Regions from separate parts of the Homo sapiens genome. Here regions 1, 2, 4 and 5 are each linked to region 3. The links are contacts of gene promoters, found by promoter capture Hi-C in blood cells and fetal thymus (Javierre and others, 2016). All regions are on one chromosome and are shown on one strand. The core of a region is centred on a gene start or on the middle of the fragment in contact, and the rest is flanking DNA. Distances in the headings are between cores, read along the strand shown. Region 1 overlaps MOB1B (MOB kinase activator 1B). Region 2 overlaps MOB1B (MOB kinase activator 1B). Region 3 holds the start of GRSF1 (G-rich RNA sequence binding factor 1). Region 4 overlaps RUFY3 (RUN and FYVE domain containing 3). Region 5 overlaps MOB1B (MOB kinase activator 1B).

Evidence for each region. The method cuts DNA at HindIII sites, captures the fragments that hold promoters and counts their contacts. A CHiCAGO score of 5 or more calls a contact.
Region 1: a fragment that was not itself captured here is called in contact with the fragment with the promoter of GRSF1 in region 3 in 7 of 17 cell types (M2 macrophages, total B cells, M0 macrophages and 4 more); the score reaches 8.7 in M2 macrophages.
Region 2: a fragment that was not itself captured here is called in contact with the fragment with the promoter of GRSF1 in region 3 in 5 of 17 cell types (fetal thymus, M2 macrophages, M0 macrophages and 2 more); the score reaches 10.1 in fetal thymus.
Region 4: a fragment that was not itself captured here is called in contact with the fragment with the promoter of GRSF1 in region 3 in 2 of 17 cell types (total B cells and naive B cells); the score reaches 8.4 in total B cells.
Region 5: a contact is called between a fragment that was not itself captured here and the fragment with the promoter of GRSF1 in region 3, in 4 of 17 cell types (erythroblasts, total B cells, M0 macrophages and 1 more). The highest score is 6.6, in erythroblasts.

What each region holds. Positions count from the first base shown.
Region 1 is chr4:70,942,169-70,944,868 of GRCh38, reverse strand. All of the region lies in intron 1 of MOB1B (MOB kinase activator 1B), which reads right to left. Among named protein-coding and RNA genes, the nearest start is that of MOB1B, 41 kb to the right of the region's middle. The HindIII fragment of the contact is 2,144 bases long and covers 196-2,339 here.
Region 2 is chr4:70,964,415-70,967,170 of GRCh38, reverse strand. All of the region lies in intron 2 of MOB1B (MOB kinase activator 1B), which reads right to left. Among named protein-coding and RNA genes, the nearest start is that of DCK, 28 kb to the left of the region's middle. The HindIII fragment of the contact is 9,182 bases long and covers 1-2,756 here.
Region 3 is chr4:70,838,614-70,841,313 of GRCh38, reverse strand. It overlaps GRSF1 (G-rich RNA sequence binding factor 1), which reads left to right and starts at 1,424. Exons shown (of 10, transcript NM_002092.4): 1 at 1,424-1,843. The coding sequence starts at 1,487. LOC124900710 (a long non-coding RNA gene) reads right to left here and starts at 2,322. Exons shown (of 3, transcript XR_007058131.1): 1 at 2,169-2,322. RefSeq lists silencers at 1,157-1,406, 1,467-2,016 and enhancers at 1,413-2,066, 2,067-2,700. The HindIII fragment of the contact is 9,073 bases long and covers 1-2,700 here.
Region 4 is chr4:70,758,474-70,761,173 of GRCh38, reverse strand. The region is part of intron 1 of RUFY3 (RUN and FYVE domain containing 3); the gene reads right to left. Among named protein-coding and RNA genes, the nearest start is that of RUFY3, 38 kb to the right of the region's middle. The HindIII fragment of the contact is 3,550 bases long and covers 1-2,700 here.
Region 5 is chr4:70,919,063-70,921,786 of GRCh38, reverse strand. All of the region lies in intron 1 of MOB1B (MOB kinase activator 1B), which reads right to left. Among named protein-coding and RNA genes, the nearest start is that of MOB1B, 18 kb to the right of the region's middle. The HindIII fragment of the contact is 5,112 bases long and covers 1-2,724 here.

The DNA of each region.
Region 1 (2,700 bases), core at 18-2,517, 100 kb before region 3:
CATGGCTTGGTGATGTCTATGTGATAGTGAATGAGTTCTCGAGATCTGGTCATTTAAAAGTCTGTGGCATCTCATCCCCTACTCTCCCCCTTTCTCTCTCTCCTCTCTACTTCCTCTGTCTCATACTGTCTTGCTCCTACTTTTGCCATGTGACGTACCTGCTCTCCCTTTTGCCTTCTGCCATGATTGTAAGCTTCCTGAGGCCTCCCCAGAAGCTGATGCCACGATGCTTCCTGTACAGCCTGCAGAACCTGAGCCAATTAAACCTCTTTTCTTATAAATTACCCAGTCTCAGGTATTTCCTTATAGCAATGCAAGAACAGCCTAACAGAAGGAGCTGCCCCAAATTTGACAACAATCTTAAAATATTACAGACACTACCAATAAAACGAGTTGTCAATCTCAAACTTTTCTAAACTATCAATAATAAACACAATTTGATCAGTCATGGTAGAGAAAAAAGTACACTGTTGACATATGAAGAAGTGGTCAAAAAGTATACAGTCAAAAAAATCTAAATAAAAAAGTATTAGAGGCCGGGTGCAGCGGCTCACGCCTATAAACCCAGCACTTTGGGAGGCCAAGGCGCGAGGATCACCTGAGGTCAGGAGTTTGAGACCAGCCTGGCCAGCATGGTGAAACCCAGTCTTCACTAAAAATACAAAAATTAGCCGGGCATGGTGGCATGTGCCTATAATCCTAGCTACTCAGGAGGCTAGGGCAGGAGAATCACTTGAACCTGAAAGGTGGAGGTTGAAATGAGCCAAGATTGCAACTAGGTGACAGAGCAAGACTCCGTCTCAAAAAAAAAAAGTATTACAGATATCTAGCAGTTGCCATAAAAATGTTATTTTTCTATAGTTTGTGATGTTAACTAACCTTGTGTTATTAAAATTGTGATCTGTGTTTTTTCATTCTAAATATTCATTTTGACATCAAATTTTGTATTTATATATTTTTTCATTTTCTCAAAAAGGGAAATGTTTTGTTTTTTTTTATTTTGATTGAAAAAGATTTTCTCCAAAAATCTAGATCTCTACCCACTTGAAGGCTTATTAATGCTACTTACAGAAGGAAAATCAGAAGTTATAGCTTGATATAACTGATTCTCTAATTTACCAATATATAAACCCATTTAGGTACACGTATAGTCTTCTACTACTATATTTACCAAGCTATGAGAAGTGTGCGTTAACTCCTGTCTCTTCTATTACCATGGACAATTTAGAAGCAGGTCCCATATGTCTTATTCACTTGGGTATTTTTTCAGAAGCTACCTTCTAATGCAGTAAATGATCAATGATTGTTGATTTTTTTTAAAAAGTTACTATACCTTGAACTACTGTCTTTAGAAAAGTTTATCAAAGCTCTTTCACTATTTTATGTCAGATGATTATTCATCATTGTGGGGTAAGTGGAAAACATGATTAACTATAAGAAATGATGTGAGCTAATCTTGCTAAAGATCCAGGTGTTGAGATACTGGATGTCATCCCAGTTCTTTGCTCACCTCAAAGATCATCACAGTTATAACAGCTGTGCTGTTCAATGGGCAAAACTAGCACCAAGTGCAAAAAGCAGAACTAGTAAACTACTTGTTCCTCTTCCATAAAAGCTGAACCACCCCATTTAGCTAATGGAATCTCTAGAACTATGTGAAATGAGAATGTATGCTTATACAATATTATGTCAAAAAAACCATCAGAAATGACCCTATGGTTTTATTTTTAAAAGGTAAAGTACTTTCTAGGGTGACAGAAATGTTTCAGGTTTTAAAAGCAGTGTGGTTTACAAAAAGCATACACTCTTTTAACTATACACTTAAGTTCTGAGCACTTCATGTTTTGTAAATCATATCTCGATAAAATAAAAATAACTTAGCAATGAACTCCCCGAACCCACTGAGATATATTTCTGAGCTACATTAAAGGGAAATACTGCCACAATGCTCTTAAACATTCATATAATAATTTTTTCTTTGCTTACTTCTTTGCCTCCAGTTCTTTATTTTGAGTCTTTCATAATCCGACAATATGAACCTTCTCTCTACAGACAAAAAACACAATATTTTGCATACAGGAATTCAGGGAGGGGCTAAAACCTGTTCATAAACCCAGATACAGAAATCCTGCCCTAGTCTGTATCTTTTCCCTGAGGTTATCATAAAAACATCAGTTTCTCTTTAAATGTCTATGAGCTTCACATTTAATTTCTAATCCTATAGACATATCTTTTAGATAAAACACACATACATTCAGGATAGGTACAAGTTTTATTTCAATTAAAAACTACAGTTTAGGTTTATTCTTTTTCTATTAAACAGTGACTAGCAGAAAGCTTTAATCATATTTATAAAATAATTTATGTTAAAGTTCAAAACCATGGCATTTATGAGAAATTCAATGCATTAAATTCATTCTTAAAAAAATAAAGAAATCCATGCTAATGCCTATAAAAACTGATAAAGTGTACTAGGAAATAACTTTACTTATTAAATGGCAATTCCACTTTAATAGACCACTAGAATATTAAATATTAAATATTAAATATTTAATAGACCACTAGAATATTAAATGGCAATTCCACTTTAATAGACCACTTTAATATTACCACTAGAAGATATTGGTAATATGTACACAAAAGTTATAAACTATTTTCTCCTATAAATCTAACTTCAAATGCAGCTGATTTGAGTGTTTG
Region 2 (2,756 bases), core at 226-2,725, 130 kb before region 3:
CAGAGCGAGACTCCGTCTCAAAAAAAAAAAAAAAAGACTCCAGTAACATATTGGTGGTGGATATCCTTGACTCTTTCCTAAATTAAGAAAAAATTTCAACATTTACTATTATAATGTTATAGCTATTCTGCAAATAGGTATGCTTTATCAGAAGAAAGTTCTCATCTATTACTTGATAACCCTTTTATTATGGATTTTGAATTTTAGCAAATGGTTTTTCTGCATGTATTGTTGTGATACGATTTTTTTTCTCCTTGATTTTGGCTAATGCAGTGAATTACAATGACCAATTTATATTTTTTTTCTAATTTATTTTTTTTTTTGAAGTAGGATCTCACTCTATTGCCCAGGCTTGGGATGCAGTCAGAGCTCACTGCAGCCTCCAACTCCTGGGTTCAAACAATCCTCCCACCTCAATCTCCTTGAGTAATTAGGACTATAGGCATGCAACACCACACCTGGTTAACTTTTTAAATTTTTTATAAATAGTGGGACTCGGCCAGGCACAGTGGCTCATGCCTGTAATCCCAGCACTTTGGGAGGCTGACGCAGGTGGATCACCTGAGGTCAGGAGTTCGAGACCAGCCTGACCAACATGGAGAAACCCCGTCTCTACTAAAAATACAAAATTAGCCGGGCACAGTGGCGCATGCCTGTAATCCCAGCTACTCGGGAGGCTGAGGCAAGAGAACCGCTTGAACCTGGGAGGCAAAGGTTGTGGTGAGCTGAGATCATGCCATTGCACTCCAGCCTGGGCAACAAGAGCAAAACTCCGCCTCAAAAAAAAAAAAAAAAAGTGGGACTCACTATATTGCCTAGGCTGATCTGAACCCCCTGGCCTCAAGCAATCCTTCCACCTTGGCCTCCCAAAGCACTGGGATTACAGGTGTGAGCCACAACCTGAGGCCCCTCAGATGCTAAACTAACCTTTGTATTTCTGGAATAAACTCAACTTAGTCATAATGTATTATATACACTTTTAAAATGTTACTAGATTCAATTCACTAATACTTTTATTAGAATTTTTACATCTATGTTCATTTCAAAAGTTAGATGACCTAGTTCCCTTTCTTCTAATGTTCATGTAGAACTCATAAAACTAATATTTTTTCCATTCTTTGTAAGAGCCAAAGGCTGGCGTTATTTCTTCCTTGTTTCATGGAAATACTACTGTGGCAAGGTTTTTAAATAGATTACAGTTTTTTTTAAGTTATAAGATTATTCAGATTTTTTATTCTAGTGTTAACTTTGATAAGTTGAATTTTTATAAGAATTAGGTTATTTCAATTAAATTTTCAAATTTATTGGGATAAATTTATAACTTCTTCACAACATTCTCTTACAACTTTTTTTTTTTTTTTTTTTTTTTTTTTTGAGACGGAGTCTCGCTCTGTCGCCCAGGCTGGAGTGCAGTGGCGTGATCTCGGCTCGCTGCAAACTCTGCCTCCCGGGCTCACGCCATTCTCCTGCCTCAGCCTCCCAAGTAGCTGGGACTGCAGGCGCCCGCCACCACGCCCAGAGAATTTTTTGTATTTTTAGTGGAGACAGGGTTCCGCCGTGTTAGCCAGGATGCTCTCGATCTCCTGACCTCGTGATCCACCCGCCTCAGCCTCCGAAAGTGCTGGGATTACAGGCGTGAGCCACCGCGCCCGGCCTCTCTTACAACTTTTAATGCTATGTAAGATCTGGTATGTATTTACTTTTTTATCCCTGATATTGGTTATTTGTGCTTTCTAATATTATTAAATAATTAATATTTTAAATTAATATTATTTTTAAAATATTAAAATATTTTTTTCTTGATCAATCTTACCAGGAGTTATAAATTTTTAAACTTTGCAAAGAACCACTTTTTTTTTTTTTTTTTTTTTTTTGAGATGAAGTCTTGCTCTGTCATCCAGGCTGGAGTGCAGTGCTGCAATCTTGGCTCACGGCAACCTCTGCCTCCCAGGTTCAAGTGATTCTCCTGCTTCAGCCTCCCAAGCAGGTAGGATTACAAGCACCTGCCACCACACAAGGCTAATTTTTGTATTTTTAATACAGACGGGGTTCCACCATGTTGGCCAGGCTGGTCTTGAACTCCTGACCTCAAGTATCCACCTACCTCGGCCTCCCAAAGTGTTGGGATTATAGGTGTGAGCTACCACGCCGAGCCCAATTCCCTTTATTGTATGTTTCTTTTCTATTTTATTAACTTCTGTTCTTTACTGATAACCTCTTTTAACTTTTTTTTTTTTTTTGAGACGGAGTTTCACTCTTGTTGCCTAGGCTGGAGTGCAATGGTGCAATCTCAGCTCACTACAAGCTCTGCTTCCTGGGTTCAAGCAATTTTCCTGCCTCAGCCTCCCACGTAGCTGGGATACAGGCATGCCCCAACCACGCCCAGCTAATTTTTGTATTTTTAGTAGAGATGGGGTTTCGCCATGTTGGCCAGGCTGGTCCCGAACTTCTGACCTCAGGTGATCCACCCACCTTGGCCTCCCAAAGTGCTGGGATTACAGGCATGAACCACCGCACCCGGCCTCACCTCTTTTAACTTTCTTTGCATTTAATTTGCTGTTGTTTTTCCAACCTCTGGAGATGGATGCTTAGTTCATTAACTTTTAATATTTTTCCTTTTATAATATATGTATTTATGTAAGGCTCTAAATTTCCTCTAACACAGCTTTAGCTATAATATATCCCACAAGTTTCCATATATAGTATTTTCATCACCAAATTTCAGTTCAAAATATTTTCTGATTTCCATTGAGATT
Region 3 (2,700 bases), core at 175-2,674:
TAAATATATATGTTTTCTTTTATTTTTTTAGAGACAGGGTTTCACTCTGTCACCCAGGCTGGAGTTCAGTGGTGGCAATCATAGCTTACCACAGCCTCTACCTTCTGGGCTGAAGCAATCGGCCTCCCAAGTAGCTGGGACTACAGGCCCACGCCATCACACCCAGCTTTATTTATTTTTTGTATAGACGGGGTCTCCCTATGTTGCCCAGGCTGGTCTGGAACTCTTGGGCTCCAGTGATCCTCTCACTTCAGCCTCCCAAAGCGCTGGGATTATAGGCATGAGCCACCACGCCAGGCCTATATTTCATTTTAAAACAACGAAGTTCTCCTTCCTCACATACCTCAAATTCGGGGGGTACCAAATCTCTGATATTATCCCAACGATTTTTTTATAACCAAGGTATCACAATTCCTTTCAGAAAGGGTTCTTTAGCCACTCACACCACGGGTTTCGGTGGCACAGCGCAGGGCAGCACAGACTTGTGCTACAGCTCTCGGCCCTACCCAGAGCAGGATGGCCCTAACCTAATTTTTTTGTTTGTTTGTTTGGAGATGGCGTCTCACTCTGTCGCCCAGGCTGCAGTGCGGTGGCACGATCTTGGCTCACTGCAACCTCCGCCTCCTGGGTTCAAGCGATTCTCCTGCCTCAGCCTCCTGAGTAGCTGGGATTACGGGCACCCGTCACCACACCCGGCTAATTTTTGTGTTTTTAGTAGAGACACAGTTTCACCATGTTGGCCAGGCTGGTCTTGAACTGCTGACCTCAGGTGATCCGCCCTACCTCGGCCTACTAAAGTGCTGGGATTACAGGCGGGAGCCACCGCGTCCGACCTAATTTTTTGTATTTTAGTAGAGACGGGATTTCACCGTGTTGCCTAGGTTGGTCTCGAACTCCTGACCTCAGGCAGTCCACCCGCCTCTGCCTGCCAAAGTGCTAGGATTACAAGAATGAGTCACTACGAATGAGTCACTGCGCCAGGCCCCTAGCCTCACTTACTTTGGGCCTCAGTTTCCACCGCCTGAAAAAAGAGCAGTTCGATTGCACCCACTTCCCCGGGCCCCGCCCAAACCATGGGCAGCCCCGCCCAAACCATGGGCAGCCCCGCCCAAACCATGGGCAGCCCCGCCCAAACCATGGGCAGCCCCGCCCAAACCATGGGCAGCCCCGCCCAAACCATGGGCAGCCCCGCCCAAACCATGGGCAGCCCCGCCCAAACCATGGGCAGCCCCGCCCAAACCATGGGCAGCCCCGCCCAAACCATGGGCAGCCCCGCCCAAACCATGGGCAGCCCCGCCCAAGGGCGGAGACTGGGCGGAGCGTCGCGCTCTCCTCCACCTCCTTCCGACTCTCGGAGGCCCCCCACCCAGTGCCCGCGGCGCATGTGCCAGGCACACCCCACCCCCAACCGGCCCTGGATTCCACTTCCGTTCCACCATCGCTGCTGGAGCAGCTGCCTTCAGGCCCTGCGCCGCCTCCGGAGTCCATGGCCGGCACGCGCTGGGTACTCGGGGCGCTGCTCCGGGGCTGCGGCTGTAACTGCAGCAGCTGCCGGCGCACCGGCGCCGCCTGCCTGCCCTTCTACTCCGCCGCTGGCTCTATCCCGTCGGGCGTCTCGGGCCGCCGCCGCCTGCTGCTGCTGCTCGGGGCCGCCGCGGCCGCTGCCTCCCAGACGCGTGGCCTCCAGACCGGGCCTGTGCCTCCCGGGAGGCTGGCGGGGCCTCCCGCTGTGGCCACCTCTGCCGCGGCCGCGGCCGCCGCGTCCTACTCTGCCCTCCGTGCCTCTCTGCTGCCGCAGTCGCTGGCGGCGGCGGCCGCCGTCCCGACGCGCAGCTACAGCCAGGTACGTGGGCGCCGTGAGGGACCTGGCGCGAGATCCCTCCCGGGCCGCGTGCACGCGCCCCCGCGCCCCTCCGTCCCTCCGTGTGCGCCTCGCGGGCACGCCCGGGGATCCGCGACACTCGCCGCACACCCGCCCCCGTCCACCCTGTGCTCCTATTGGGCCCTGGAACAAGGGAAGCTCTCCCAGGCGTCGGGTCTTCTGCTTGTTTTGTTCTCGCCTCGAGTCTCTGGTCGGTTGGGCAGTGTAAGTGTGGCTGGGGTGAATGTTGAGGCCTTGTTCCCCGCCTGGCCCATGGTAGGTTTCGTGAGGCTGCTGACGCCCCCACCTCGCATCTTCTTGCTTTCCGCCGGCTGGTTGTGAAGTTGCGAGGCCCGAGCCCGCCGGAGGGTTGGGAGTTTCCGTGCAGCCCGAGCGCTAGGCCTGGGCGGCCCTCGGCGCCTCTCGGTCGGCCGCTGCTGGGAAGGTGCGCGCACACAGTTGCGTGGGCTGGCTTGTAGGGAAGGAGCCTGTCCCCATCGCGCCGTTCCCTCTCCTGTCCCCAGGGAAAGACGAGCTGTCCCGGTTTACTGAAGGTCACCTCTGCAACTCCACTCATACAGAAGGTCTTTAAGGACTGTGTGTCGCCTCGTCTGGGAAAGCAGTTTGGAGATTTAGCTGTTGGGGGGAGGGGGTGAATGGGAGGGAGCGTTGAGGGTTGAGGACACAACTTGGGGTCCCAGGAATGAATTTGCAATGTTTTCCTTTCCATTTTTTCTTTATTTTTTTAGAAAAGTCGGTGTGTAGTTAGATTGCAAATATTTTGTGCTTTGTAGATGAACCTTTCTCTTCTTGGTACGTGGCATCTGGGAAGTGTCTGC
Region 4 (2,700 bases), core at 196-2,695, 80 kb after region 3:
AACACCAAATATACCAAATTTGTACTGAAAACTAAAGAAGGCCTAGAGCTCTATGATGTATTCCATTTCTTCTTAGGAAGACTAAAAATACTAATAAGGCTATGCTTCCATAATACAAATAAGCCACTTAGCAAAAAACAGACTGTTTAATGCAAATTATCCCAAGCAATTTTCTTCATACAAGGTTTTTATTTATATCTGCTTTCAAAGTTAAATGAGCAGAGTCAAATGGTCAAATTCCAAATTAATCTTCTCATTAAGTTTAAGGACTTACGGATTTGCAATTCCAACTATATAAATCTTGGTTTGTTGTTATGTTGTCTGAGGTTACTTTTGGAGAAACACTTTATGTGAGAGTCAGAATTGGTATATATCACCATTAATTCTTTCTTGCATAACAACAAATGTTTTAGGGCCATAGTTTAAATGTGGCCATAGCTTAAATGTAGATCAACTTGTCAAGGGTAGTATTCTCACAAGAGGACAGCAAAATACATGGAAAACTATGCCCTGAAAGACAGCCATGAAGAAAACTATCAGATATTAATTTCCATTTATTACCAGCATGTATGTACATTCTAGTGTTTCTGACCTCCTATAATTACTCAAAAAAAAAAAATAGAGCTGGGGTGTGGGTATGAATATGTGTAGAGGGCTACTAGCCTTCCCACCTGACACCTCCCAATAGATGGCAGGAGACTATGGTTGGTACTAGATAACTGCCTGCCCATAACTTTGAGGCATTCACTCTGCCTCAAGCCTGTAGACCATTAATTCAGGAACTTATAACAAGATTAAACAATGCTGCTAGTCAAAGTTTACAAGCTGATTCCAACGTAGTGAGAACTAGTCATGTGGTGAGAGATAGACTTGGGTTAAGTAAAAAATATCATATTGAGACATTTTTCCAGAAGTAGTGATAGATTTATACCAACCCATCTACATTTTCTCATCTTGTTCTTCTTATAATCTGCAGCAGAAATGTTTAAGACATCTGGCTGAGGTCTGGAGTGCATGAACTACAGACAGGTTAACTAGCGTCTATGGGAATTAAATTTCTGATATCATGGACTCCATTAGTAAGGTGCTACAATCTATTTAAACTAACTTCCATCAAACATAAACAACCTACCCATTCTTTAAAAAACACTACTCTCAACCTTGGCACTGTTGACATTTTAAGCTAGATAATTCATTTTTATGGGGCTCTGTTCTGAAAACTAATTTTCACAGCAACCCAGTAGTGGGTAACACTAGATGTCAGTAGCACTGACAACTGTTTTTGGTGGGTTAAGACAACCAAAAATGTCTCCAGACACTGCCAAATATTCTTTGGGAGATTAAATCAGGTCCTTCCACATTGAGAACTACTAATCTAAACAAATGAAAGTGAAACAAAAATCTGTTATAGTAATTTGATTGTTAGAGATAAGAGCTTAAAAGTAACAATTCACTCAGAATGGCTATTACTAACAAGACAAAAAATAAAAAATGCTGGTGTGGATGCAGAAAAAAGGGAATTCTTATACACTGTTGGTGGGAATGTCAATTAGTATAGCCTTTATGGAAAACTGTACGGAGGTTCCTCAAAAAACTAAAAGTAGAACTACCATATGATTCAGCAATCCCACTACCAGATATTTATCCAAAGGAAAGGAAATCGATATAACAAAGAGATAGCTGCATTCCCATGTTTAATTCAGCACTATTCACAATAACCAAGATATGAAATCAACCTAAGTGTCATCAACATGAATAAAGAAATGTGGTATACACACACACACACACACACACACACACATACACACACACACACAAATTCAGCCATAAAAAGAATGAAATCCTATGATTCATGGCAACATGGATGAGCCTAAAGGACATTATGTTAAGTGAAATAAGTCTGGGACAGAAAGATAAATACCACATGTTCTCACTCATATGTGGAAGCTAAAAAAGTTGAGCTCATAGAAGTAGAGAGTAGAATTGTGATTATTAGAAAATGAAAAGAGTATGGAGGAGGGGAAGATAGGGAGAGGTTGGTTAACAGATGCAAAGCTACAACTAGATAAGATGAGTAAGTTCTAGTGTTCTGTAGCATTGTATGGTGACTATAGTCAATAATTTTCTTTTTTTTTTTTGAGACAGAGTCTTGCTGTCGCCCAGGCTGGAGTGCAGTGGCACGATCTCGGCTCACTGCAAGCTCCGCCTCCCGGGTTCATGTCATTCTCCTGCCTCGGCCTCCCGAGTAGCTGGGACTACAGGCACCCACACCACGCTGGGCTAATTTTTTGTATTTTTAGTAGAGATGGGGTTCCACTGTGTTAACCAGGATGGTCTTGATCTCCTGACCTCGTGATCTACCTGCCTCGGCCTCCCACAAGTGCTGGGATTACAGGTGTGAGCCACCACGCCTGGCAATAATTTTTTTTTTTTTATATTTTCAAATAGCTAGAAGAGAGGATTTTGAATATTCCCAAAATTAATAAATAAGTGTTTGAGGCAAGAGATATGCTAATTACCCTGATTTGATCATTACATTGTATACATGAGCCAAAATGTCAGTCTGTATCCCTAAATATGTATAATTATTACACATCAAAAATTTTAAAAAGAATATATTGCTCATTGTAAATGAACACAAAAGCTAAAATGAGTATTATTTAATTCTTATTATTAACATTTTTGTGCTGAATAGTATAC
Region 5 (2,724 bases), core at 173-2,672, 80 kb before region 3:
GCCTGTAATCCCAGCACTTTGGGAGGCCAAGGTGGGTGAATCATGAGGTCAGGAGTTCGAGATCAACCTGGCCAACACGGTGAAACCCCATCTCTACTAAAAATACAAAAATTAGCTGGGCATAGCGGCACATGCCTGTAATCCCAGCTACTGGGGAGCCTGAGGCAAGAGAATTGCTTGAACTGCAAGCTCACTCAGCTTGCAGTGAGCTGAGATCGCACCACTGCACTCCAGCCTGGGTGACAGAGCAATACTCCATCTCAGGAAAAGGGAAGGGGAGGGGAGGGGAGGGGAGGGGAGGGGAGAGAAGAGAAGAGAGAAGAAAAGAAAGAAAGAAATCCATCAGCAGTTTGGCAATTCTTTTTTTAATATAGTTAAGCATGAAGCTGGATTTACTGTGGAGCCAAATTTCACACACATGCCTGCATTGCTTCACATTATGTTTACTGTTTTGCATAGATAGTGCTGGCACTGGAGTACTTACTGGTCATGTGCCTAAAGTGGATTTCTTGACTGCATAGAATGTATAATAGTACTGGTAAACTAAAGGATATTAAATTGTGTATCAGGAATAAAATATTCATTATGTGAGTTTTCTGGGGCCCTAGGTAACACTGTAGCCTCCAGGGTAAATTAAATAGGAAAATTTAGGGTTGGTTTCCTGTTTGTTTTTGCTTCTAGTTTTCATTCATTTGCTGTTTATTCTCCTCTGGCTTTGCTTGTGTATGCATATATATAAAAAACCATGATATTTTTTAGTTCCTAGTGGAAGGCTTTTACTTGGTTCCGCGAATGGTTATTTTGTTTCTGATGCATTTCTAGCAAGTCATCATTTGTTCCATTTATCTGGAATTCCTAAACTACCTTTATCAGTAGAGATTAATGGAGCACACCAGCTTTTCATCCTTAAGCTAACTTTTTGGATTTTAGGCCTCCTGATACTTTAACTGTGTTGAGTATATTCTTGTAAATAGAATTTGAATCATACTTCTCTTTCTCTGCCTAATTTCCCCCAAAAATCTGTAAACTATTTGTGAGTATTCTTAATTCATGGCAATGTGTTTGTCTGCATACAGTCAAGCAGGGTCACTAGGATCACTCAGAGAGAGAGAACCCAGAAAACTGGCATGCTGGCAAAAGGGTAAGAATTTCTTACCAGTCTATATCTGGCTTCTTTCTCTGTGCAAACTAGTTAAATATAAAGTAAAAGTCACTGTTTATCTCCTCCATAAAGTTTTAAATTAATTGCTGTAATAATAAGAAGCCAGGTTCAGTGGCTCATGCCTGTAATCCTAGCACTTTAGGAGGCCGAGGCAGGCAGATCACCTGAGGTCAGGAGTACGAGACCAGCCTGGCCAACATGGTAAAACCCCATCTCTACTAAAAATACAAAAATTAGCCAGGCATGGCGGGGCACGCCTGTAATCCCAGTTACTTGGGAGGCTGAGGCAGGAGATCACATGAACCCAGGAGGCAGAGGTGCAGTGAGCGGAGAGTGAGACTGTTGAAGGAGAAGGAGAAGGAGAATGAGAAGGAGGAGGAGAGGAAGAGGAAGAGGAGGAGGAGGAAGAGGAAGAGGAGCTTAAATCAAATATTTTGTCAGAAAAGTGAAAAGTGTAATGTCTTTTATCTAGTTCATGTGACTTGAGTAATTTCTGGGAAATAAGGATAGTTTTAAAGATAATTGGTAAAATATGTCTTCAAAATGTAAATATGTGGTTACATATTATGTTATGTATAATTATGTATAACATAATATGTAATTAAATTATGTTCAAATATTTGCTTTAGGGTCATAAGCTGTTTCTTTGGCTTTTGAAAATTGTTTAACTTGCCTGCTTTCCAGCTAGGTAAGGCCTGGGGACATGTGGAGTCATGACTATACATCAAACCTTATTGAACATAACTCACCAGGTTTTACATCAAAATTAAAATTTCTAAGAGTTGCCATTATAACATGCAATTAAGACTACTAGAAACAGTTTTACAGCTGGGTGTGGTGGCTCACGCCTGTAATCCCAACACTGTGGGAGGCCGAGGCGGGCTGATCACCTGAGGTCAGGAGTTCCAGACCAGCCTGGCCAACATGGGGAAACCCTGTCTCTACTAAAACTACAAAAATTAGCCTGGCATGGTGGTGCGCGCCTGTAGTCCTGGCTACCTGGGAGCCTGAGGGAGGAGAGTCACTTGAACCCGGGAGGCAGAGGTTGCAGTGAGCCGAGATAGCGCCACTGCACTCCAGCCTGGGCAACAGAGCAAGACTCCATCTCAAAACAACAACAAAAAAAGAAACAGTCTTACATACAATGTGTGTAAGAACAGTAGAATGTGAGGTTTTTTTGGTAAAAGGTTATAAAAGGTTTTTACTTCTTTAAAATTTCTGAGTCATCATTCTGGCAAAATAAATAATTTACGGGAATCTGGAATTCCAAAATCAAACTTCAGTTTCAAAATTGTCTTTTTTTTTTTTTAATTATTATTACACTTTAAGTTTTAGGGTACATGTGCACAATATGCAGGTTTGTTACTTATGTATACATGTGCCATGCTGGTGCACTGCACCCACTAACTCGTCATCTAGCATTAGGTATATCTCCTAATGCTATCCCTCCCCGCTCCCCCCACCCCACAACAGTCCCCAGAGTGTGATGTTCCCCTTCCTGTGTCCATGTGTTCTCATTGTTCAATTCCCACCTATGAGTGAGAATATGCAGTGTTTGGTTT